Regions from separate parts of the Homo sapiens genome. Here all the other regions are linked to region 6. Evidence: promoter capture Hi-C in 16 types of primary human blood cells and fetal thymus (Javierre and others, 2016). All regions are on one chromosome and are shown on one strand. The core of a region is centred on a gene start or on the middle of the fragment in contact, and the rest is flanking DNA. Distances in the headings are between cores, read along the strand shown.

Region 1 (3,403 bases), core at 32-2,531, 360 kb after region 6:
TCAGAAACCACAGTTAGCATCAAAAATCACTGGGAAAGGGAAAAACTAATAGAAGAAAGGAGTGTGGGTGATTAGAGGATACATATCATAAGAAAATTTTAAAATGTTGCCCAAGACAGCCTTAAATATTATTTCAACTCAATCCAGTAATCTAGTTCTGATATTACCCTCCCAATATCTGGATGGGAAAATTGGGTAAGGGGATATTATCCAACTCATAAAACTTTGCACAAGGGGCTTGAGGAAACCAGGAACAATGCTTATTGAAGCTGGAACTATACATTGATGAAAAGGTATCATTTCCCTTACTGTTGTGAAAAACCGGGGACATCTTACAATAGGTTCTTTTTCATCAGCTGTGTCGAGAGAATAAAAGGATAATGTCTGTGGCCAATATTACTGAATTGTGCTTGCTAGAGCCTTAATGAGATGATTAATGATCTGAGCAGAGCATCATTTCAGATATGGGAGGAGGTGGGGGAATGGTGTGAGGGAGCTGCTTTTCCTTCAGTGAGCTAATCTGTCAAGGGATTGAATTAAGACGGCAAGTGGAGCTGAGGGAAAAACTTGCCTCATTCTCTCCCCATCTGGGCCTCCTCTCCTCTCTTCTCCTCTGCTGTCCTCTAGGTAGCATCAGACCTTGAGGCCTCTGAGTCCCAATTTCTCCTCAGTAAAATGAGGACAATAATCTCTCTCTCTCAGACTATTGTGCAATCTACCTTAACATCAAGGCCTAAAACTTTACACCACTCAGAACTCCTTCACCTCTTATCTTTTTTATTTGTTCTTTTGATTTTATTTTAAGTTGTATTTTGAAATAATTTTAAACTTATAGAAAGGTTGAAAGATAGGGAGTCCCATTTACTCTTTATTCAGATTTAACAATTTTTTTTTTTTTTTTTTTGAGACAGAGTCTCGTGCTGTTGCCCAGGCTGGAGTGCAGTGGCACTATCTCAGCTCACTGCAAGCTCTGCCTCCCAGGTTCACACCATTCTCCTGCCTCAGCCTCCCAAGTAGCTGGGACTACAGGCACCTGCCACCATGCCTGGCTAATTTTTTTTGTATTTTTAGTAGAGACGGGGTTTCACTGTGTTAGCCAGGATGGTCTTGATCTCCTGACTTCGTGATCCACTCACCTCGGCCTCCCAAAGTGCTGGGATTACAGGTGTGAGCCACCGCACCCGGCCCAGATTTAACAATTTTTGACACTTTGTTACCTTTGCTTTATTATACTCCTTCTTTCTCTCTCTACACACACACACACACACACACTCTCTCTCTCTCTTTTATGAACTATTTTAGATAGCTTGCAATCATTCCCTCTTACCTCTTAGTCCTTTATTGTGTATTTCCTAAGAAAAAAAGGTATCCTCTTACATTACCATAATACAGTTGTCAAATTTATAAAATTTAACATTGAAACAATACTTTTTCCACTCCATACTCCATAATCTAATTTGCAAATTGCCCTAATCATGTCTGTTATGGCATTTTCCCCTTCCAGTACAGAATCCAGCATAGGATCCTGCATTGCAATCGACTGTCTCATGTCTTCAGTACCCAAATCTGGAAGATTTCCTTAGCTTTTCCGTATCTTTCATGACACTGATATTTTCAAATATAAGACGGCTATGTGACAGAATGTTCATCACTTTGGGTTTGTCTGATGTTTCTTGATGATTAGGCTCAGATCGTGCCTTTCTTGCTGCATAAGACATCAGTGATTTGTCCTTCTCAGAGTACTGTGTTTCAGGCACATAGTGTCTGTCTGCCCCTCACTGGTGATGTTAATTCAATCACCTCATCAAGATGTTGTTTGGTTTCTCCACCATATAGTTACTATTTCCCTCTTTCAACCACTAAACAATCTGTGGGGAGACACTTTGGGACTGCGTACATATCCTGTTCCTCATCTAACTTTTCCCCCTGGACTTTGCATCCAAAGATAATTCTTTTCTGAATCAATCTTTATTATGATAGTTGCAGAGTTTTCTTTGCCTAACCTCATGCCATATTTTTATCTTTCTTTTTCCACAGTCATTTAGAACCTGGCACCCAAGAACATAATCACATTATTCATTTTCTCAATATTATGATACCCATAAAGTAGTTTCACAATTGCTATACCCATATCTCAATGAAAAATAAACTTACTAGAAAAAATTCAAGATTTGTTTGCAGTTCTTTTGTTCCCTAGATTGTGGGTATATTGTCAAAATCATGTGATCAAAAGTTACTTGCATTGCTTCTCTTTTTCTTTTTCTTCTGTATGGTAGTTATCCTTCTCTACTCCCCAGTGTGGTTATGCATGTGTGTATGTATGTATGTATGTTTTAGAGATTGAGTCTTGCTGTGTTGCCCTGGCTGGAGTGCAGTGGCTATTCACAAGTGTGATAATGGCCCAGTACAATCCAAACTTCTTGCTTCAAGTGATCCTCCTGCCTCAGCCTCCCGAGTAGCTGGGACTACAGGTGGGCACCACCACACCCAACTTTCCATGTGATTATTTAATAAAATACAGTTAATTTGTGACTGTGTCTATTCAGTTTTAGGGTTTTCCCCTCTCCTACATCATCTCCCCAAATCTAAAATTTATGGCCTACCATATTAGTTGGCCTGGGCTGCCATGACAGAATACCACAGACTGGAGGGCTTAAATAGCAGAATTTTATTTTTCACTTCTCAGGCGGCTGGAAGTTCACAATAAAGGTGCCAGGAGGGTTGGTTTCTGGTTAGGCCTCTTTTCCTGGCTTGCAAATGGCTGCCTTTCACTATGTCCTCACATGGCCTTTTCTCTATGCGTGAACTCTGTTGTCTTTTTCTCAGCTTATAAGGACAATAGTCCTATTGAATTAAGGCCCTTCCCTTGAGGCCTGTGTAACTGTAATTATCTCTTTACAGACCTTATCTCCAAATACAGTCAATGGAGTTGAGGGGTTCAACAAATGAATTTTGCAATGGCACAGTTCAGTCTATACCATCTACTGTCTTTCCAGCTTTCTCATTCTTTCTCTGATGAAGCTCTTGGAACTTCTTTTGAAACTCATTAAGACTCCTGATTCCTTTTGGTTTATTTCCTTCCTTGTTTAACTATTTGCATATTCATTCTTTCACAATTCATCTGATCATTCATTAATTTACTTATCCAAATATTATTTATTAAACACCTATTAAGGATAATGCACTTTGCTAGACATAGGAGATACAGTGGTGAGGAGGAAAACTGAAAAAGGATATGTTCCTAGGGCTTAGAGTCAACTGAGGGAGTCTGACATTAATCAAAAAGTCAAATATTATATTTAAAAAATTTTAAACATGTAAAAATTACACTACAATTGTGCTCCCAAGAATATACATATAAGAAAGTGTAAGAGGAGGGAACTGATCAATTTAGTGTGGTTGG
Region 2 (3,477 bases), core at 369-2,868, 380 kb after region 6:
TCTTTCTCTTAATGATGGTTTCAGCTTTTGCCCCCTTTAAAAAATTATTAAAGCATACATGTATTTGTTTGCATATATAAATAACCATAGTAGGAGGTATTTACTATCCTCTTTCTGCTACTTATGCTTGATGAAATTGGAAAGTATTGGCAATTGGAAAATCTTGGCAGTGAGTGATTGCCTGGTTCTTAAAGTTCATTCAAGTGTTTTCTGCATTATCTACTAGACAGAACCATAGAATCCAGGAGCTGTCTGGTTTCCTGGTCCAACAACCTGCCCAATACTCTTGTTCTTAGTGTGCATACAGATAATGTCTGGGCACTGGTACTGGGGAGGAACTCCAGACTTGCAAGGTAGCCCATTCCACCTTTGGACAACTTAGATATTCTTCATTAGATTCTGCTGAAGCCTTCTGAAGCTTCCATTTATTGATCACAATTCTTTTTGTTCTGTTTTGTTTTGTTTTTTTGAGACAAAAAACTTGCTTTGTCACCCAGGCTGGAGTGCAGTGGTGCGATCATAGGGCTCAAGGCTCAAGGGGACAACCACCTCAGCTTCCCAAGTAGCTAGAATTGATCACAATTCTAATGGCAACATGTGGAAACCTTCTATGCCATTTCCCACATAACAAGCCTTCATAACAAGCCACATAACAAGCCTTCATATATCTGAAGGCAGCTTCTCTGCCCCTCTGAGTCTTTGCTTTCCCAGATTTAACATTCCCACTTTCTTCATTTGTATTTCTTATGAATCCCCTGACCAGCCTGGTCAATTGGGAATTCTAATCCTACCTCTACTACACAGTTGCTATGAGTTGAGTTCTGTTGCTTTGTTATTTTCCTTCTTTTTCTTTTCTTTTTTTTTGAGATGGAGTCTCACTCTGTCACCCAGGCTGGAGTGCAGTGGCATGATCTTGGCTCACTGCAACCTCTGCCTCCTGGGTTCAAGCAATTCTCCTGCCTCAGCCTCCAGAGGAGCTGGGACTACAGGTGCATGCCACCACGCCTGGCTAATTTTTGTATTTTTAGTAGAGATGGGGTATCACCATGTTGACCAGGCTGATCCCAAACTCCTGACCTCAAGTGATCCACCCGCCTGGGCCTTCCAAAGTGCTGGGATTACAGGTGTGAGCCACCATGCCCAACTGCTTTGTTATTTTCACACTTATATCATCAGGACATTTTGAAAAAACTATTCTGTTTCACCTTTTAGAAATGACTATTTTTCTATTTAATAAGCTCTTCAAAATCTGGTTCATATTATAAAATAATTCAAAATGCATAAAAGTATGCCTATACCCCTATTGTCAAATAAAAAACCCAGACTTAGTAAGGAGAGCCATTATTTGAAAGGATTATTGCGAAGTGGTCAAAGGGACTATTGCAATAGGGGGAGGGGGACTCTTGCAATAGGGAGAATGTTTTGACCATAATATATGCAAGCATCTCAAGAGGTAGGCAAAAAAAGGATTTTCTTTTACAGAGAGAAGTAGCAAGGCTAGCAACAACCAGGTATGGGGAAGCAGGATGAAAGCGTAGCAATATCAGATAGTAGGTTAGAGAATGTTTTACCTTGGAGCCAGCCTATTCTCAGGAGGGTTTAAGGAGGAGTTGTAGGCTGACCAAAATTCAGGGACCTGGGAAAAGGAGAGAAGCTAAAGCAAAGTTTCTGGTTAGCAAGCATTTTGTTCTGGCCGACCGGCGGGGCAAGCAGTTCAGCTAATCATTTATGAGGCAAAGAATGGGAATTTAGAATGTCTGTATCTGGCCTCGTTGCAAGGTAAGCAAGGGGCACATCTATGAGTCTTCTCTAATTTATATGGGGACTCTTGGTTTTTTTCAGTAAGCCAGTTTCTGGAACACAAAAGGGTTGGTATTGGGGACTTCTTTAAACAATGGTAGGCTGGGTGCCGTGGCTCACGCCTGCCATTCCCGCACTTTGGGAGGCCGAGGTGCGCGGATCACGAGGTCAAGAGATCGAGACCATCCTGGCCAACGTGGTGAAACCCTGTCTCTATTAAAAATACAAAAATTAGCTGGGCATGGTGGCACATGCCTGTAATCCCAGCTACTCAGGAGGCTGAGGCAGGAGAATCGCTTGAACCCGGGAGGCGGAGGTTGCAGTGAGCCAAGATTGCGCCACTCCACTCCAGCCTGGTGACAGAGCGAAACTCCGTCTCAAAAACAAACAAACAAACAAACAAAAATGCTGTTTTCCAGGATAACAGGGCTCAGGTAAATACAACATTGTCTCTATACATCACCTGATTTAAGAAATGTCAAGATTGCTTTGGCCATTTTTGCTTCAAAAACATTTTTAAAAGAAATATACACTGTAGACACAGTGAAACCCCTCAACCTATTTTATTTCCTTATCTTTCTCTGCAAAGTCAACCACTTTTAACTGGTTGCTGTGAATCTCTTGTTTTTGGTGAAAACTGGACAATTTAAGAATTCAATTTGATTATGCGACACTTGGCACAAATGACTCCATTCTGATTTGGTTTGGTCTGTTGGGGCCTACTGTGAGGCCCGCTTCAATACAGTGGCCTTCTATAATTTTTGGTTAACAATTTGAATGTAGCCATCATCTCAGTCAACTTAAGCTGAATCACGCCAGGGTCATAAAACTCCCAAATTTCAGAGTTTGCTGCAACTGACATATTTTCTTGTTCACATTCACATGGGTTGACAGGCTCTGTTCCACATCATCTTCACTCCAGGGACTGCAGCTGAAGATGCAGCACATATCTTGGACATGGTGGTCTTGTGACAGAAAAGAGAGACAACAGACCCACAGGAGGGCTTTTAAAGCTTCTGTTTCAATATCACATTATAGTCACATTTTGTTGCTGAAGCAAGTGACCTTGGCTGAGGGCATATAATCTCCCGCAGGTTAGCCTGGGAGGGAGGGGCAGCAAATATTTTCACAGGGGTACAATCAACCACACTAGGTGTCCCAAACCCTCTTTTGTTCTGTGTGCTTTTCATGCTGTGCTTAAGAAATAATTCCCTAACCAAATGCCATAAAAAAGATTCTCCTACATGTTCTGTGAAAGACTTGATTTTTACATTTGTATTTTTGACCTATCTGGAATCTATATTTGGGTATGGTATGAGATAGAGATCTAATTTTATTATTTTTTTAGTTAATCAATTACACTGCCAAGACAAGCTCGGTTGTGGAGACCCTAACCCAGTGGCACTAGAGAAATTAAAGACACACACACAGAAATATAGCATGTGGCCTACAACGGGCCATATCATTTGAGGTTGAGGTGTCACTATACTGCTATGTTTCCAGATAATAGGAACTCTTGCTGTACTTCCTACCATTTCTACCATCTGACCATTTTGTTCAGACCAGCTGAACATAGTGTGGCCGTGGCATGCAGACTGAGAGGTGCTATTTAAGCTAAATGTCCCCTTAGGGGACCAATCAATAATGATTCCATAGGAATCGTTGCACAGCACCTCT
Region 3 (3,552 bases), core at 200-2,699, 340 kb after region 6:
TCAAAACCCATATTTTTGACCATTAGATTCAGAAACAACTGCCTTTCTAGCATATCCCTCACTCATTTTCTCATGAAAATTCTTCTCCTTAATGGTCCTATTCAGAGGACAGTTCCTCAATAAAAGATTCCTTGGTATTATGTTCAGAATTAATTTTTCCCTTCCTGGATTTTCATATGACCGACTGCCTTTCTTTTGGAATGTAATACGCTGTCTTTTGTTTATAGGTGTGAATATCTCATTTTCTGTGCTGTATAGAATAGTTCTTGGGTGCCTAACACATACCAGGTGCTTTAAAAATGTTTTCTTTAAGGAATTATTATGAATTCCTTTAGGGCAAGGAGTATGTCTCTATATTGCCTAGCTCATGTTTTACATTAAGGAGTTCAATGAGAGCTCATTGGATTGAAGTTCAGGAACAAGATCATCTGCTAGAGGACAGAGCATATACACTTTAGAAAGGACAGAATTGGGGAAGTAATTTATAGATATTGACGCAATAAGTAGGCTAGTTCATGACCTAAAGAAATTTGAAAATGAGTACAATTTAAATTGGCCTATAGGTTTGTGAATCCAGCTAAAGGCTAATTCAGTGCCTTCATAGGATATCTTTCTTTATCTCTTCTGTTCCTAGTCTAGTACTAGGCATTATTGTATAATGGAAAGACACCTATAAAAGAAAAGAAATATCTGAGGCTCTCATGTCTTCGCAGGAGTTCACATTTAAGAGAATAAATGAAAAAAGGAAACTTTTTTTTTTAAAAACAGGGTCTCACTCTGTTGCCCAGGCTGAAGTGTGGTGGTGTGATCATAGCTCATTACAGCCTTGAACTAGGCTCAAACACCACCTCAGCCTCCTGATAAGCTGGGATTACAGATGCATGCCACCACAAATTTTTAGTAGAGATGAGGTCTCTCTATGTTGCCCAGGTTGGTCTTGAGCTCCTGGGCTCAAGCAATCCTCCTGCCTTGGCCTCCCAAAATGTTGAGATTATAGGTGTGAGCCACCTTGCCTGGCCCATTTTTAAAAAATAATTTAAACTTTTATTTTAGATTCAGGGGGTACATGGGCAGGTTATATGGGCATATTGCATGATGCTGAAAGGAAACTTAAAAATAAATTATCAAAGAGTAGAAAATTTGTTTGAAAAAATGTGTATTAAATTGCTGAAGCACTATAGAGGAATAATAAGAATGTGCTGTTGGCTAGCCAGGGAAAAGTTCCAGAAACAGGTGAAGGTTGAACCAAAACAATTATGTGATGGTTGCTATTTGGTAGAAAGCAGTGAGCAGAGCACTTTGACTAGTATGAAAAAATAGTGCAGGGTCTAGAATTAGTGTGTTGTATTTATGGAGGATGCAGAGTGGATGGGCTTTGCTGGTGGAAAGACTTTGCTGGATGTGCTTAATACCCCCAAAAGAGGGACTGTAGGCAAACTGGGAGGCAGGTGAAATTGGACTTGAGAGTTCTAGCACATGAATCTTGTAGCACTTCTTTTCCTCTTCTGGCTCTTCCTTTCCATTCCTCACCCCAGCCAGTCATCATGTGTCTTATTGCCAGCTCTTAGGCATATGCTCACTCAGGTGTAGATAATGATGATTTAGAATTTGAAACAGTAAATCAATTGGAGGATGGGGTGGAAAGTGGAGGGCAGGAAAAAGTTTTGCTAGTTAAGATACACATATTAGCAAAGGAACAGGTGTGAATGTTTATAGACAACTTGATGAAAAGGCAGTGGTTTCGTTTGGCTAGAGCAGTGAGCTTCCTAATGTTTTTGAGTAAGAACACCCCTTGTTAATAAGAAAAAATTGGTAGGTTCCTACATAATAGTAAACTGTACTGCTACTATCCTTTGGAAAAATACATGTTGGTAAGATTACTATAAATTAATACATTTTAAAGTAATAGTATAATATGGTAGTTAATTTAGTTTACAGACAATAATCGGAAGGATGTGGATTCACAGACCCCTTTACGTTACTTTACTACTTCCCAGATCTTTGGCCCACAGGTTGGATTTCACTGGGCTAGCATAGGATTTCTGTAGAGAGGTTCATTCTGTGAGACTCATTTATTCATTCACTCAAGAAATATTTATTGAATTAAGTGCAGTATGCTCTTTTAGGCTCTGGGAAAATAGTTGTAAAAGAAACTAAGACCCTCCCTCAGGGTGCTTATATTTTAGTGAGAAGAGACAGACAATAAAAAATATTACACAAATAACTATGATATTTCTAATGATGTTAAGTGTTACAGATAATAGGGATTATCTGGGTAGGCTGGGGGGAATGTTACTTTGATAGATTGGAGAGAGAACTCTCTACTATGGTGACATTTGTATAGACATTTGAATGAATTAGGGAGGGCCCTGTAGGTCTCAGGAAGAAGAGTGGAATGCGTACAAAGCCCAAGAGGTGGGAGCATGTTTGCTGTCCTTGGGTAAGAGCAAAAAGACTGGTGTGGCTAGAGTAGGATTAGGGAGATGAATAATTAATTGTGGTAGATGATGGGGTCTGGTAGTGCATAGCCAGCCATATTATATAGGATCTTGCAGGCCATTATAAGCACTTTGAATTTTACCCCAAATGAGATTTTTTAAAAAGCCATTGGAGGATTTAAATCAGAACAGTGACATAATCTGAAATGTTTTAAAATAATTACCATGGCTGTTTGTGAAATAGATTATTAGGTAAGCGTTGAAGCAAGGGACCAACTGTAGAAATCCAGGCTACAGATTAATTCTCAAATGCTTCTTATTGGTTGAATAAGATGAGGATGGAGAACTGACCCTTGGAATTGCAATGGAGAGGTTACTAAGGAGTGTGCACTCAATTTGTTAGGTAATAATGAGCCTTTGAAAGTTTTATAGGAAAGTGATACCATCAGTGTGGTACTTTATGAAAATTTATCAGTTGGTACCCACAGATGGGAAGAATTCGATTAGATGAAAAAGTCTGAGGATAGAGAGATATTTTAGGTACCCATTTCAACAATCTAATTGGAAAAGTATGGGAGCTGGAAGTAAAGTAGCAAAGGTGAGAATGGAACTGACATTTCAGAGTCTGAACTGGAAGAACTAGGCAACTGAAGGAATATAGAGCCAGAGACAAAAGAGTCTAAGTTAAAATTTTGAAATTGCATGATGAGAAAAATTGTGGTTGCATTAACAGAATTCAGAACATCAGGAACAGAATGAGTTTGTTTGGGAAAGATGATACCCTTAACTTTGGATGACATGGCTTTGAAATGCTAGACATCTAGGTTGACCTCATAACTCACCTTTAAATTATTATTCTTCCATCCTCTTTCAGCAGTCCCTCTTTTGAGATTCCAGAGGCATTGGAAACTGTAATCTTCTGAACTGAAGGATCCCACCCTTCTTCCTAGAATAAATCTTTGTTACTTGACTCTGTAGTCTATATTGATGATCCACACAGAATAAGCCTCACAAAAAAGTCTGTTATTTTTGTTTATGTGCTGAGTTTGAGGTGTTGGTGGTAAATTTTGGCAAAAATGTCTTTTAGAATGAAAATGTAAGTCCAGAATAAAGA
Region 4 (3,767 bases), core at 707-3,206, 280 kb after region 6:
CATTGTGGAAGTCAGTGTGGCGACTCCTCAGGGATCTAGAACTAGAAATACCATTTGACCCAGCCATCCCATTACTGGGTATATGCCCAAAGGACTATAAATCATGCTGCTATAAAGACACATGCACACGTATGTTTATTGCGGCACTATTCACAATAGCAAAGACTTGGAACCAACCCAAATGTCCAACAATGATAGACTGGATTAAGAAAATGTGGCACATATACACCATGGAATACTATGCAGCCATAAAAAATGATGAGTTCATGTCCTTTGTAGGGACATGGATGAAATTGGAAATCATCATTCTCAGTAAACTGTCGCAAGGACAAAAAACCAAACACCGCATGTTCTCACTCATAGGTGGGAATTGAACAATGAGAACACATGGACACAGGAAGGGGAACATCACACTCTGGGGACTGTTGTGGGGTGGAGGGAGGGTGGAAGGATAGCATTAGGAGATATACCTACTGCTAAATGACGAGTTAATGGGTGCAGCACAGCAGCATGGCACCTGTATACATATGTAACTAACCTGCACATTGTGCACATGTACCCTAAAACTTAAAGTATAATGATAATTTAAAAAATTGCATTTCTCTATATACTTGTAATTAAACAATTAGAAATTGACATTTAAAAAATATAACAATAGCATCAAAAAGGATGAATAATAAGGGATAAATCTAAGAAAATGTGGAAAATTTCTATATTGAAAACTATAAAACATTGGTGAATGAAATGAGAGAAAACTTAATAAGTGGAGAGACATATCACGTTTATGGATTCAAAGACTTTTTAATGGGTAAATTTATCTCACATTTATCTATAGAATCTGTGCAATTTCAATCAAGATATAAGCAGCTTTTTGAGTAGAAATTGATAGGCATATTCTAAACTTTGTTTGGAAATGCAAAGGACCTCGTATAAGCAAAATGATTTTAAAACAGAAAAACAAGAAAGGCCTCCCACTGTCTGATTTCAGTACTTATTCAGCTGCAGTATTCAAGACAGTGTAGTATTGGGAGTAAGGATAGCTATATAGATAAAGATAGTACAGAAAGATGCCCACATATATTCAATTAAATGATCCCAACAAAGATGAGAGAGTAATTTCATGAGGTAAAACATTGTTAGTAAAAGGTGCTGGAACATCCATATGCAGAAAACTGAAGCTAAAACCTATCTCCACCATATAAAGAAATTAACTTGAAATTGTACATAGATCAAAATGTGAAACCTAAAGCGATATAAATTGCTAGGGGAAATTCTTTGTGACCTTTGATAGTAAAGCTTTCTTAGGTAAGACATAAAAAGCATCAACTATTAAAAAATTGGAAAATTAGAGTTTATAAAAATTAAGACCTTGTGCTCTTCAAAAGATTCCTGCAAAAGTGAAAAAATAAATAAAACAAGCCACAGATTGGGACAAAATATTTGTGAAGGATATATCTGATTAAGAAGTTATATCCAGAATATATGAAGAACTTTCAAAACTAAAGAAAACAATTCATTTTTTTAATTGGGCAAAAGATTTAAACAAATATTTTACTAAAGAAGATATCCAGATAGCAAATAAACACATGATATTCACCGAAATTATTAATTAGGAAAATGCAAATTAAGATGAATATCATTATATACCTACTAGAATGGCTATATTTTAAAAGTTTGACACTGCCAATTACTGGTAAAGATGCAAATCAGCGGGAACTTTCAAATGTTGCTGGTGGGAATGCAATATGGCACAGCCATTTGGCATTTTCTTATAAACTCAGACCCAGGTTCATGAGCATGAGACCTGTGCAATTGAACAGGGCCTCATGCTCAAAAGAGTCCCATATTCGGCTTAATATTCCACTGTTAGTATCTTGAAATTCTAATAATTTTGTCTCGAAACCTGTATTTTATAAGTAAGGCCTGTTGGAACACTGGACTATGAAATTCGTCTGCCAGTACTTTCTGCCCTGTTTGCATATAGTGTTGGAGATACCCCATGAACACAGAATTCCAAGGGACCCAGTGGTGCCTACAAGTTTAATGAGACTCACAGCTAGCACAAGGTAAACATGTTACAGCTAAGTCTGAGTAAACATAAATACTGATAACCTCTTGAGGCTATGTTTTTTATTTGAACTAGAGTTGTTTCTAATGCAAAAAGAAGACAATGGCATTCTAAGAAACACAAATGAGCAAGGAATCCTATGATATCCTTTCTTATTCCCATTGTTTCCTAGTATTACACAGCTGGTTTTGCTGAAAGTAATGATGCCATAAGTCAAAGGTAGAGAGTGTTGGTAGAATGTGTTGGTAGACTTGAAATAAAAAATTGAGTAAATTTTGTGTAGTGTTTCCACTGTTCTGGTAAGAACAAAATATATGTGCATGTATGAACTACAAAATAAGAATTGTGTGATTTTGGTGATCCTACATAGGAGTTAAATGTACATATATACATTTAAAGCTAGCATTATGCAATATAAAGACGAATGACAAAATTCAGCCTAATAATTTAAAATTTTTCCTTCCTTAGAAAAAATTTTAACTAGCAAATAAAAAATAAAAAACCATGACAAACTGAAAAAAAGACCAAGGAAGAAAGGAAAAAGCTTTATATTTTATATTTTTAATGACACCTTTTTTCTGCTTTTTGAACAAGGGGCTCGTTACATAATGTAGCTGACCCCAAATAAATTACACATACATTTACCATAGACAAGTAAATTCAATTATTGGGCTTCAGTGTAAGGTTGTCAGGAGATAGCCAACCGTATCTTTGGCAGCCCACCAGTTTTTAGTATGAGGTCTTTTCTCTCCTTGATTTCTCTAGGAAGGAAAGCTCCATTCATTCCTTTTCAGGAATGAATTAGTTTGCTTCTTGACTTTCCCAGCTACAGGTACTTAACTTTTAACTTCCTCTGTTCAGCTAAGAAGTCAATTGTTACTTGATCATATGCTTTCCGGTTTTTAACCTATTTTTGACAGTTCTCACTGTTGTTATTTTATCTCTAGTTTTCCTTTTATTTAAGGTTCTAAATTTTTAAAAGTTTATTTCCTGCCATCATTTTTGTGATGTTTGGAAAGGAGAATTGATAAGCTCATATAGGTGTTCTATTCACTATCTTTTACTGGAGATACACACACACACACACACACACACACACACGTATATATATATCCAGTAAATATATATATACATGTATCTATCCAGTAATATATATATATATATTTAAATTTTGGATATCATTGCAAAGATTTTTTTAAATTAATTTTATTTTTTACAGATTCCAATCACTAAAAAAAAAACCCTAAGTATTTTATTAAGTATCTTTTATATAAAACAATACAACTTTAAAAAATAAACAGGACAGGCCCACAGAGATAATAGAACCTGAAAGAAGGATCCATGTCTATAGGAAGAGTAGAGATTATGGCATCTTCTCAGCAGGGAATTCTGCACACCCCACCTCCCTTAGCTGGTTAAAAACGCTGTCTGGTAGCTGGTTATAACTGGAACTGAGTCTGTGGTAGAGATATAAAGTTAGGAGTTATTAACAACTGAAACTAATCAGATTCAATTCCACCCTGGCATCTGCTTATCTCAAGACTCAAACTGGCCATGGGCGACTAAAGACCCTCCTCCAACCTCTTGGTGACTCCTCTGCCCATCCCCCTTGTTTCGTTAACTCCTATTTAGTTTTTCAGACTAAATGTCACCTACTCCAGGAAGTCTTTCCTGAAACCATTCTACTAAGCTAATTTAG
Region 5 (3,477 bases), core at 775-3,274, 330 kb after region 6:
CAGGGTTATCTTTTGAAAGCTATTGCCATACAGTAGACATCATCATTTCTCTGTGACCCAGTGAATCTCATTTTAGTGTTTGAAATTCCCCAGAAGCAGATGTTCAGAAAAATCTTCAGATTTTTGCTTTGTAATTTTGAAACTTTGAAACAGCTATTCCTATATTGTCTTACGTTTTGCTTATTCCCTATATTTTGTTTATTCACATAAAATTGGTTTATTCATTGAAGATTAGGTGCTTGTTCAGAGACTAACTTACTTCAGAAAGAATACTCGTAAGTGTTGAGCTCCATTCCTGGCTCCTCTAGTGATTTAAGATTCTGTGTTTATATTGTACAACCTTTATACTCACTTTTCTCCGTTATGAAACTGAATAAAGACAACTTGCTGTCTTCTACTTTGTACAGTGAGGGAAAAGCTTTGTTAGCCAGGAATAACTTTGTTCCAGGTCAAGGGTAGAGGTGGAGAAGTTCACTTGTTTCAGTGACTGGTTTTTAAGACTAGGGTGTGGGTGGGGTTAAAAAAAGTTTTCGCTGGCCTTAGGTCAAATTAAAATCTAGGTAACGTGAATACAAACCTGGGAACCTCCTCACTCTCATCCCTCTAGTCTAAATTGAATTTTAGCACTCTGTATTTGCTTGTGTTTCGTTTTCTTTTTCTTATTTTATTTTTTAATTGAGATGGGGTCTCACTCTGTCACCCAGGCTGGAGTCAGTGGCATGATCTTGGCTCACTGCAGCCTCTGCCTCCAGGGCTCCAGCCACCCTCCCACCTCAGCCTCCCAAGTAGTTGGGACAACAGGAGGGCACCACCACTCCTGGCTAATTTTTTGTATTTTTGGTGGAGACGGGGTTTCGCCATGTTGCCCAGGCTGGTCTCGAACTCGAGCTCAAGCGATCTGCCCGTGTCAGCCTCCCAAAGTGCTGGGTTTACAGGCATGAGCCATCATGCCTGGACTGCTTGTGTTTCTTTATGTCAATGATAATTATTCAGCTTGCTAACGCCTGAAGAATAGAGACTATAAATTATTTTTGCATACTCCACAACACAAACCTGAGTGTTTCATATATGGCAGGTACCAGATATTAGGTTGGTGCAAAAGTCATTGCGGGCTTTTTTTTTTTTTTGCACCAACCTAATTTAAATATTTGTTGAGTGATAGGCTAATGTAGGGTTAATTATCTAATGGATAGGAAACTAAAACAACAGCAGCAGAAGCAAGAACAACAACAACAACTTAAAAAAAACTAATTCAGTAATAGAAAGGGGAGAGAGAGTGTAAATGGCAGTGTTACATGACCAGAAACATGTTTAGGAAGATGAATATGTGCAAAGCTGCCAGATTTAACAAACAAATATACGGGAAACCCTGTATCTTACCTGGCAACCCTAGTATGGTGTTAATGTAGACTCTTTAGAAGACTTGAGAAGGAAGACAATGGAGATAACTAGGAGACTACTGAAATTATTGTGGGAGAAGAAACTTTCTGACAAATACATGTGCAAGAACTGAATTGAGGGCACACTGTGGAGGTAGAATGTACAGGACTTGCTGACTGGATGTGGAAGGTAAGGTAGAAGTGAAATCAAGTGATTACTTCAAGATTTTTAATTTAGATTACTAAGTAGGTGATTGCATAAAAATGATATCCAGAAAGCTAGGAGGAGAGTTAGAGAGTAAAGGGATTATCTTGGTCAATTTTGTGTTACCATAACAGAATATCTGACACTAGGTAATTTATAGAGAAAAAGGTTTATTTTTCTTATGATTCTGATGGCTGTAAAGTTCAAGATTGGGCATCTGCATGATGAGAGCCTCAGTCTCCTTCTACTTCATGGTGGAAGGTGAAGGGGAGCTTGTACGTGCAACGATCACATTGCAAAAGAGGAAGCAAGAGAAAGGGTGGGAAAAGCGGCAGGCTCTTTTTAACAACCAGCTCTCTTGGGAACTAATGGAATGGGAACTCACTCACCCTTGAAGGAGGATATTAATCTGTTCATGTAGGATCCACTCCCATGACCCAAACACCTCCCATTAGGCCCCACCTCCAACATTGGTGATCAGATTCCAACATGAGGTTTGGAGGGGACAAACATCTAAGCCAAGCGTAGATAGAGAAAGAAAATGAGTTCAATGTAAACATTTTTGAATTTGCCAGATGAAATAACCATCGGATATTTAGAGATATAGATTTAGAGCCTTTGAGAGATTTGGTAAATACAGACATATGATTGCCTTTAAAGGACTCTGGAAAGTAGGGGTAGATTTTGCTGGAATGCCAGGTGGTTGATCCAGGGTGAAGACATGTATCTCCTGAAGCTGAATTTGGATCAAGAAACGGAAGAGCCAAATGTATATAAATGTTCCCTTGAACAGTGGTGTATATATTAGTGTAATTTCACAATGGTGATGTAAATCCGAGTATAACAGAGAAGTGATGAAGCAAGAAAATTTCCCCTTAACTCTTGCAGAACTTTACCACAGTGGAAACTTACCAGAATCTCTGATGGTTTTGCCTTTGGTATGGGGAATAAAGGGCAAGAGATAAATTTGAATAGGCAGTGCTGTTGCTCCTGCTTAAAGCACTCCTGGAACTCTTAGCCAGGTATTTGTAGCCAGATGTATTCTTGGATAGCTCTATTAAAGACTTATAGTAGGAGGATATGTGTATGGCAGGGATTGGGGATGGGGGTCAGTGTGTTCCACAAATCCATAACCCTCCTGTAATGCTGCTGTGCTGCTCAATAAATATTTATTGAAAAAAAGTGAATGAAAGAGTGAATATTGAATAAATAGCTAGAGATATACCTATTAATAAACATAAAGGTAATAATAATAAAGGTATTAATAATATCAATATAAGTGTAGTAGAATGAATGATATGAAAAATTAGAAATTAATTATTTCCCATGAGTCTTTAGATGTCTAAGGAACTTATGTTGCAAAAGGACACAAACTGGAGAACAGTCCAAAAAAATGTATTTCTAGCCCTGTCACATGCTTTTTCCTGCATATAGCAACAAATTCTGTGTGTGGTAGTGCTGGCATTTTTCCTCCCATGAGGATGCATAGAATGTCAGCACCTGTTTACAGTTGCTGTAACAACTGTAAGTCACAATGGCTTTTCCATGTGAAGAGGGAGGAACAAAGTGGGGAGAGTTGGATAAAAATATGTATGAACAGGTGCATGAATCAAATAAGTCCCCAGAGGTAGAAAAAGAGGATCTATGTGTAGCTTCTCACACAGATCACTCCTCCTATCTGTAGTCAGCAAATGGATTTTGATAACCTGAGAACAAAATTAGAATGGAAGGATTTAGGTGGGGAACAAAAAGAACCAGAACCAACGAAATAAGAGCACAGCCTCTACCAAGAATACAACAAAACAGGAGAATTTTTTTTTTTAAGTTTAAATGTTTGGAGCTCCATCTTCTGGTTATGAAGCGGGATAGAATTGAAATGCACTATTAATCATA
Region 6 (3,664 bases), core at 766-3,265:
TGCTTATACAAAACTTAAATTTGTATAACTAAAAAGGGCGATTCAAGTGACTCTTCCTGGGAACAAAGAAGGTTGACACTTTGGGAGGCTGAGGCGGGCAGATCACGAGGTCAGGAGATCGAGACCATCCTGGCTAACACTGAAACCCCGTCTCTACTAAAAATACAAAAAATTAGCCAGGCATGGTGGTGGTCGCCTGTAGTCCCAGCTACTCAGAAGGCTGAGGCAGGAGAATGGCATGAACCCGGGAGGCAGAGCTTGCAGTCAGCCGAGATCGCGCCACTCCACTGCACTCCAGCCTGGGCGACAGTAGGAGACTCCATCTCAAAAAAAAAAAAAAAAAAAAAAAGAAGGTTGACTAAGGGGCTTTTGGACATTATCTAGGCAGACACCCCTGACCCCTTCTCTTGCTAAATAAGTAAATAAAGTTCTGCTTCACCAGACATAGCCACATATGTGTAAAGCACCTAGCCACCTGTATTGGTCTGTTTTTACGCTGCTAATAAAGACATACCCAAGACTGGGTAATTTATAAAGGAAAAAGGTTTAATTGACTCACAGTTCCACATGGCTGGGGAGGCCTCACAATCATGGCAGAGGGGGAAGGGGAAGCAAGACACGTTTTACATGGTGGCAGAAAAGGCAAGAGCGTGTGTAGGGGAACTCCCCTTTATCAAACCATCAGAACTTGAGAGACTTATTCACTATCATGAGAACAGCACGGGAGAAACCCGCCCCCATGATTCAATGACCTTCCACCAGGTTCTTCCCATGACACATGGGAATTATAAGAGCTATAATTCAAGATGAGATTTGGGTGCGGGGGAAACACAGCCAAACCATATCACCACCTCTGTCACCCCTGAGAAGTGCTCAGAAAATGTTAGCTGTCTCCCTCCTCCCTTCCTCCTCAGCCTGACCACACCTCTGCATCATTCAAGCTGGGAACACCTTGCCTTCCAGAGACCTTTCCCGTTCCTCAGTGTCCATTCTCTGCAGGGCTCTGCGTAAATACGCCCTGTGCTGACTGACCCCTTATACGCAACCTCCAGGGAGGCTGGATGGCCAGAGCTGCCTTCAGGGTTTGTTTGCCAAAGGCAGTTTATTCTTTCTTCAAATAGTTAGAATTTACTTCACATTTGAATCTAACTTGTATTTTTATACAGTCAGCATGTCCTGAGCATTCTGTCATGGAGAAGAATTTGCTCATCCATGAATAAACAATGCATAGCTAGTATCCCTCTTGAGACAGGTAGAGGCGTTTATGAAGTGTGCCTTGTTACTAGCCTGTGCCCCACAAATAAACTTTCTGCTGTGAGAAGGGGTGTGGCACCTGCTTTTTCAGAGGTTTAGTTTCACAGAACCATACAGTCCTTGGGTTTTGCCAGCAGTGCCTGCTTAGAATGCACAGAGGGGCCCTGGGCACTGTGGTCAGAGGCTGTCCTCAGACCCCATCTCCATTTCAGACCAAGCTCTTTACCACATCCCCTTGCAGGATTCCCAGATGTCCCTAGGAGGCCAGGGGTATGTATCTCAAAGTAGACTCTTATCTCCAAAAGCAAGTGAGAGCTCCCTTGAATTATTTTGGGTGAAGGAATTAGTTTTCACATGTTTCATGAGACATAATTAGGTGCCTAATACCATATTATTCTCACAGGTGTTTAATTATTGACTTTAGACACAAATTCTAATAGAACTAGAAGAAAAACTGAGACAAATTCTGAAGCTCCTTGAAATTATTCTTAGTCCCTCCTGACATTTCCTCCACCGGCGTTTTTTTTCTTTTTGCTCTATTTCCAGCAGACACGCTTTGCTAATGCTACAAGGTGTGGCTTTGGCTTTGTTGTTTTTTCCGGAGTTAGCTTTTCTGTCTGTGCATCCTGGCTCTTTGAAATCCCAACTGAATTTGGAGAAATTATTTCTTGGCATCCACCCTACTTTCCAGGGACACAATGTGATGCTGACGACATAGCCCGGTCACTCCACTTGACAACAAGTTTGTTTGTCTCATCTCACATACATATTCAGTGGTGAGTAAGAACAGAAGTGGAAAGCCTTACTTACCACAGTTTATTATATGTTTCATGCCTGTGATAATTACTTTTATAATGCCACTTGTGAAAAAATTGATCAGATTAGGATGAATCACCTTGCTGGCCAACAGTTATTGGAATGATTCTCCATGTGTGACTTCGTTGCACTATTACAAAATGTGGCAGGATAGACCTGCCCAGCCATTGTTGCCGATGTTCATTTGTAATGCTGCCTTAAGGAGATGAGGAGATGAGAGCCAATTGTTCCAGCAGCTCAGCCTGCCCTGCCAACAGTTCAGAGGAGGAGCTGCCAGTGGGACTGGAGGTGCATGGAAACCTGGAGCTCGTTTTCACAGTGGTGTCCACTGTGATGATGGGGCTGCTCATGTTCTCTTTGGGATGTTCCGTGGAGATCCGGAAGCTGTGGTCGCACATCAGGAGACCCTGGGGCATTGCTGTGGGACTGCTCTGCCAGTTTGGGCTCATGCCTTTTACAGCTTATCTCCTGGCCATTAGCTTTTCTCTGAAGCCAGTCCAAGCTATTGCTGTTCTCATCATGGGCTGCTGCCCGGGGGGCACCATCTCTAACATTTTCACCTTCTGGGTTGATGGAGATATGGATCTCAGGTAAGTAACCCCAGGGAAGCTCAGCAGTCTGTCTCTTATCCTGCCTAGGGGGAATAACTGAAACTCTTGTGTTAAACACTCTTCTAATCTTTTGGTAGAGATTCTAGTGGGAAATGTTACAAATATCACAGAGACTTGTTCAGCCATGGGTGGGCTTTCCTTTCAGTGCTCAAAAGTTACTTTGCTGATGATCATTTTCTTTATTGGCTACTGTTCTGAGCAGTGGGATGCGTTCTGAGCAGTGGAGGCAGGTCTGCACCTCACCCAGTGGCCCTTCCTAAGCTTGAGCTCATTCTTACCTACACTGGCCTCTTTAGCAACTCCTAGGACTTAAACCAAGAATCCCAAGAAGCTAACGATTGTGGTTTGGTAGCAGCCGTCGTGGTTGTGTCAGTGGCATAGTCAGAATGAGACTCCCGTAGCTCCAGTCAGTGATGCCTGAGCACCTACTTTAGGAAAGAAGCACTTTAGAGGACTGGATAAAGGAGCTTTAGGGGTGTCTGGTGGCCATATCCAGCTTTAAGTGCTGAGATGGCTTGTCGATTTGACTTCAGGAGCAATGCGAAGGCTCTCAGGACTAAAATTGTTCTTTCTTGTTGCTTTGCAGATCGTTAACATCATCACTAGATTCGCATTCCTTCCCTTTAAGCCAGTGACCTTATTCCCAATTATGGTGTAGATAAATACCTCTGGGAGACATTAAGCCTTGTCCCTTATTTACACTTTAATGAGGATGAATTAGTCACATGCTTTTCTGGATTACATGTTTTGATGGGGGAAAAAAAGAGCATTTGAGGAAAGAGTAGAGGGATAGCACTGGAAAAAGAGCTAAAAACAATGGTCTCTCGAGACTCTTTGCTTACTTGTGAACATGCCGTTTCACTTCCTGCCCTGGGGAAGAACTGCTTATAAATTTAAGTATTTGTTTCATGTGTATGTCATTTAGTTGAGATTCACTTTACCATGAATGAATGAATCAGAGGTAATGACTGAGCTGGGAGTTG
Region 7 (3,493 bases), core at 931-3,430, 300 kb after region 6:
ACATATATTAAATATTTTTACTGGCTTTTTAAAATTAAAATACTGCATTAATATTGGTATTTTAGTATTCCATGAAATAAACAGTGAATTATCAGTAATATTTTCATTTTGCTCTAGAATGGGAATCACTAAATCATAACAGTGAAAACGTATATTTAGTCGGGCCTTACAGTGTTACAAAAATATAAAGTCATTTTAAAGGAACCAAAATCTATTCAGAATGTGTTTAGTCTTTCCATATCACAGAGCTATACGAGATGTCCTTCTAAGCTGTCTTATTGTTCATAGTGTGCAAGTTGTGGTCTAGTGGAATCTCAAAATCACCAGGGTCAGAGTGGCACTGAGAGTACCTGCATTAGTCTGTTCTCACACTGCTATGAAGAAACACCTGAGCCAAAGTATATAAAGAAAAGAGGTTTAATTGGCTCATGGTTCCATGGGCTATACAGGAAGCATGATGGCCTTTACTAACTTTCAATCATGGTGGAAGGCAAAGGGGAACCTATCACTAGGAGGATGGTGATAAACCATTAGAAACCAACCCAATGATCCAGTCACCTCCCACCAGACCCCACCTCCAGCCCTGGAGATTATAATTCAACATGAAATTTAGTGGGGACAGAGATCCAAACCATAGCAGTTATCTACTATTGTGTCCGGAATTGGTGGGTTCTTGGTCTCACTGACTTCAGGAATGAAGCTGTGGACCCTCGTGGTGAGTGTTACAGTTCTTAAAGGTGGCATGTCCGGAGTTTGTTCGTTCTGATGTTCGGATGTGTTTGGAGTTTCTTCCTTCTGGTGGGGTTCGCGGTCTCGCTGGCTCAGGAGTGAAACTGCGGACCTTTGTGGTGAGTGTTACAGCTCTTAAGGCAGCGCGTCTGGAGTTGTTTGTTCCTCCCGGTGGGTTCGTGGTCTCGCTGGCTTCAGGAGTGAAGCTGCAGACCTTCGCGGTGAGTGTTACAGCTCATAAAAGCAGTGTGGACCCAAGCAGTGAGCAGCAGCAAGATTTATTGCAAAGAGTGAAAGAACCAAGATTCCACAGTGTGGAAGGGGACCTGAGCGGGTTGCCACTGCTGGATCAGGCAGCCTGCTTTTATTCTCTTGTCTGGCTCCACCCACATCCTGCTGATTGGTAGAGCCGAGTGGTCTGTTTTGACAGGGCGCTGATTGGTGCGTTTACAATCCCTGAGCTAGACATAAAGGTTCTCTAAGGCCCCACCAGAGTAGCTAAATACAGAGTGTCGATTGGTGCATTCACAAACCCTGAGCTAGACACAGGGTGCTGATTGGTGTGTTTACAAACCTTGAGCTAGATACAGAGTGCTGATTGGTGTATTTACAATCCCTTAGCTAGATATAAAGGTTCTCCACATCCCCACTAGACTCAGGAGCCCAGCTGGCTTCACCCAGTGGATCCTGAATGGAGGCTGCAGGTGGAGCTCCCTGCCTGCCGCCGGCATTCCTCAGCCCTTGGGTGGTCAATGGGACTGGGTGCTGTGGAGCAGGGGGCGGCGCTCTTAGGGGAGGCTCCGCGGCACAGGAGCCCAGGGAGCGCGGGGGAGGCTCAGGCATGGCGGGCTGCAGGTCCTGAGCCCTGCCCTGCGGGAAGGCAACTAAGGCCCGGCGAGAAATTTTGAGCACAGCAGTTGCTGGCCCAGGTGCTAAACCCCTCACTGCCCCGGGCGGTGGGGCCGGCCGACTGCTGGGAGTGCGGGTCCGCAGAGCCCACGCCCACCCGGAACTCGCGCAGTCCTGGTTCCCCCCAGCGCCTCTCCCTCCACACCTCCTGGCAAGCTGAGGGAGCCGGCTCCGGCCTTGGCCAGCCCAGAAAGGGGATCCCACAGTGCAGGGCGGGCTGAAGGGCTCCTCAGGTGCCGCCAAAGTGGGAACCCAGGCAGGGGAGGCGCCGAGAGGAAGCGAGGGCTGTGAGAACTGCCAGCAAGCTGTCACCTCTCACTATCACTCATAGAAAAGCAGAGGATAACTAGTCTTCTGACTCCAATAATCAGCCTTTCCCTTTAGCACTTTTTTTTTGTTTGTTTTTAGACGGAGTCTCGCTCTGTCGCCCAGGCTGGAGTGCAGTGGCGCAATCTCGGCTGCAAGCTCCACCTTCCGGGTTCACACGGTTCTCCTGCCTCAGCCTCCCGAGTAACTGGGACTACAGGTGCCCGCCACCACGCCCAGCTAATTTTTTGTATATTTAGTAGAGATGGGGTTTCACTGTGTTAGCCAGGATGGTCTAGATCTCCTGACCTCGTGATCCACCCGCCTCGGCCTCCCAAAGTGCTGGGATTAACAGGCATGAGCCACCCCGCCCAGCCCCTTTTGAACTTTTACAGTGAGAGTTTACATCTGGGATTTTCCCCTCCAAGCACTGCATGGAACCCATTCAAATCTGGTCTTAATTTTGGAGTAGGGCTGGCCTCATGGGCATATGACTTGTGCAGTCACATAGGACCTATACTCAGAAGGGCCCCTTGCTTGGTTTAATGCCATTTTTGCCACCTTGAAATTCTTTCTTCTTTTTTTTTTTTTTTTAGAAGGAGTTTCGCTCTTGTCCCCCAGGCTGGAGTGCAGTAGCGCGATCTCGTCTCACTGCAACCTCCGCTTCCCAGGTTCAAGCAATTCTCCTGCCTCAGCCTCCTGAGTAGTTGGGATTACAGGCTCACGCCACCATGTCCGGCTAATTTTTTTTTTTTTTGTATTTTTAGTAGAGACAGGGTTTTGCCATGTTGGCCAGGCTTGTCTCGAACTCCTAACCTCAGGTGATCTGCCCGTCTCAGCCTCCTAAATTGCTGGGATTACAGGCGTGAGCCACCGCACCCAGCCGCCATCTTGAAATTCTTAGTAATTTTTTATTTTTTATTTTTGGAGACAAGAGTCTCGCTCTGTTGTCCAGACTGGAGTGCAATGGCGCCATCTCGGCTTACTGCAGCCTCTGCCTCCCAGGTTCAATAGATTCTTCTGCCTCAGCCTCCCAAGTAGCTGGGACTATAGGCACCCAACACCACACCCGGCTAAATTTTTTGTTGCCCAGGCTGGTCTTGAACTCCTGAGCTCAGGCAGTCCGCCCGCCTCGGCCTCCCAAAGTGCTGGGATTACAGGCGTGAGCCACCGCACCTGGCCCTTAGTAATTTTTGAACAAGGAGCCCTGCATTTTTATTTTGGACTGAGCCCTCAAAATTCTGTAGCCAATGTTGTTGCAGTGGTTTGCTTTAACAATATCAGGAAGAATGATACGTATGTGTAATGCATGGCTAATTTTTTAAAATGTGAGATTCGTGCTTATTCCACTTGGATATATTTAGGCACTAAGACAAAATGTCCCTGGTCAGAGTTGAAGCTACACCAGTATTTGAAGTGCTAAAATGTATTCCTTCTTTCCATTAACACCTCTCTTCTCCTTCCTGTCCATTAAGATCTTTATGCTGCTTCCTGGACTTCTCTCAGCCCCTCTCCCCGATGTCCCACCATTTGCCCACCATGAAAAATA

Evidence for each region. The method cuts DNA at HindIII sites, captures the fragments that hold promoters and counts their contacts. A CHiCAGO score of 5 or more calls a contact.
Region 1: a fragment that was not itself captured here is called in contact with the fragment with the promoter of SLC10A6 in region 6 in 3 of 17 cell types (M0 macrophages, M1 macrophages and M2 macrophages); the score reaches 6.4 in M0 macrophages.
Region 2: a fragment that was not itself captured here is called in contact with the fragment with the promoter of SLC10A6 in region 6 in 2 of 17 cell types (M0 macrophages and megakaryocytes); the score reaches 5.6 in M0 macrophages.
Region 3: a contact is called between a fragment that was not itself captured here and the fragment with the promoter of SLC10A6 in region 6, in 12 of 17 cell types (megakaryocytes, M2 macrophages, M1 macrophages and 9 more). The highest score is 12.2, in megakaryocytes.
Region 4: a contact is called between a fragment that was not itself captured here and the fragment with the promoter of SLC10A6 in region 6, in 1 of 17 cell types (megakaryocytes). The highest score is 6.9, in megakaryocytes.
Region 5: a contact is called between a fragment that was not itself captured here and the fragment with the promoter of SLC10A6 in region 6, in 6 of 17 cell types (megakaryocytes, M0 macrophages, M1 macrophages and 3 more). The highest score is 10.3, in megakaryocytes.
Region 7: a fragment that was not itself captured here is called in contact with the fragment with the promoter of SLC10A6 in region 6 in 1 of 17 cell types (megakaryocytes); the score reaches 6.5 in megakaryocytes.

What each region holds. Positions count from the first base shown.
Region 1 is chr4:86,485,232-86,488,634 of GRCh38, reverse strand. It overlaps a transcript of MAPK10 not described here. Among named protein-coding and RNA genes, the nearest start is that of MIR4452, 56 kb to the left of the region's middle. The HindIII fragment of the contact is 5,937 bases long and covers 1-3,403 here.
Region 2 is chr4:86,466,241-86,469,717 of GRCh38, reverse strand. It overlaps a transcript of MAPK10 not described here. Among named protein-coding and RNA genes, the nearest start is that of MIR4452, 75 kb to the left of the region's middle. The HindIII fragment of the contact is 2,395 bases long and covers 421-2,815 here.
Region 3 is chr4:86,502,796-86,506,347 of GRCh38, reverse strand. It overlaps a transcript of MAPK10 not described here. Among named protein-coding and RNA genes, the nearest start is that of MIR4452, 38 kb to the left of the region's middle. The HindIII fragment of the contact is 5,090 bases long and covers 1-3,552 here.
Region 4 is chr4:86,570,730-86,574,496 of GRCh38, reverse strand. It overlaps a transcript of MAPK10 not described here. Among named protein-coding and RNA genes, the nearest start is that of PTPN13, 22 kb to the left of the region's middle. The HindIII fragment of the contact is 1,316 bases long and covers 1,299-2,614 here.
Region 5 is chr4:86,522,496-86,525,972 of GRCh38, reverse strand. It overlaps a transcript of MAPK10 not described here. Among named protein-coding and RNA genes, the nearest start is that of MIR4452, 18 kb to the left of the region's middle. The HindIII fragment of the contact is 3,208 bases long and covers 421-3,477 here.
Region 6 is chr4:86,847,735-86,851,398 of GRCh38, reverse strand. It overlaps SLC10A6 (solute carrier family 10 member 6), which reads left to right and starts at 2,015. Exons shown (of 6, transcript NM_197965.3): 1 at 2,015-2,660. The coding sequence starts at 2,284. The HindIII fragment of the contact is 4,581 bases long and covers 1-2,944 here.
Region 7 is chr4:86,545,602-86,549,094 of GRCh38, reverse strand. It overlaps a transcript of MAPK10 not described here. Among named protein-coding and RNA genes, the nearest start is that of MIR4452, 4.8 kb to the right of the region's middle. RefSeq lists an enhancer at 1,229-1,729. The HindIII fragment of the contact is 4,379 bases long and covers 1-3,493 here.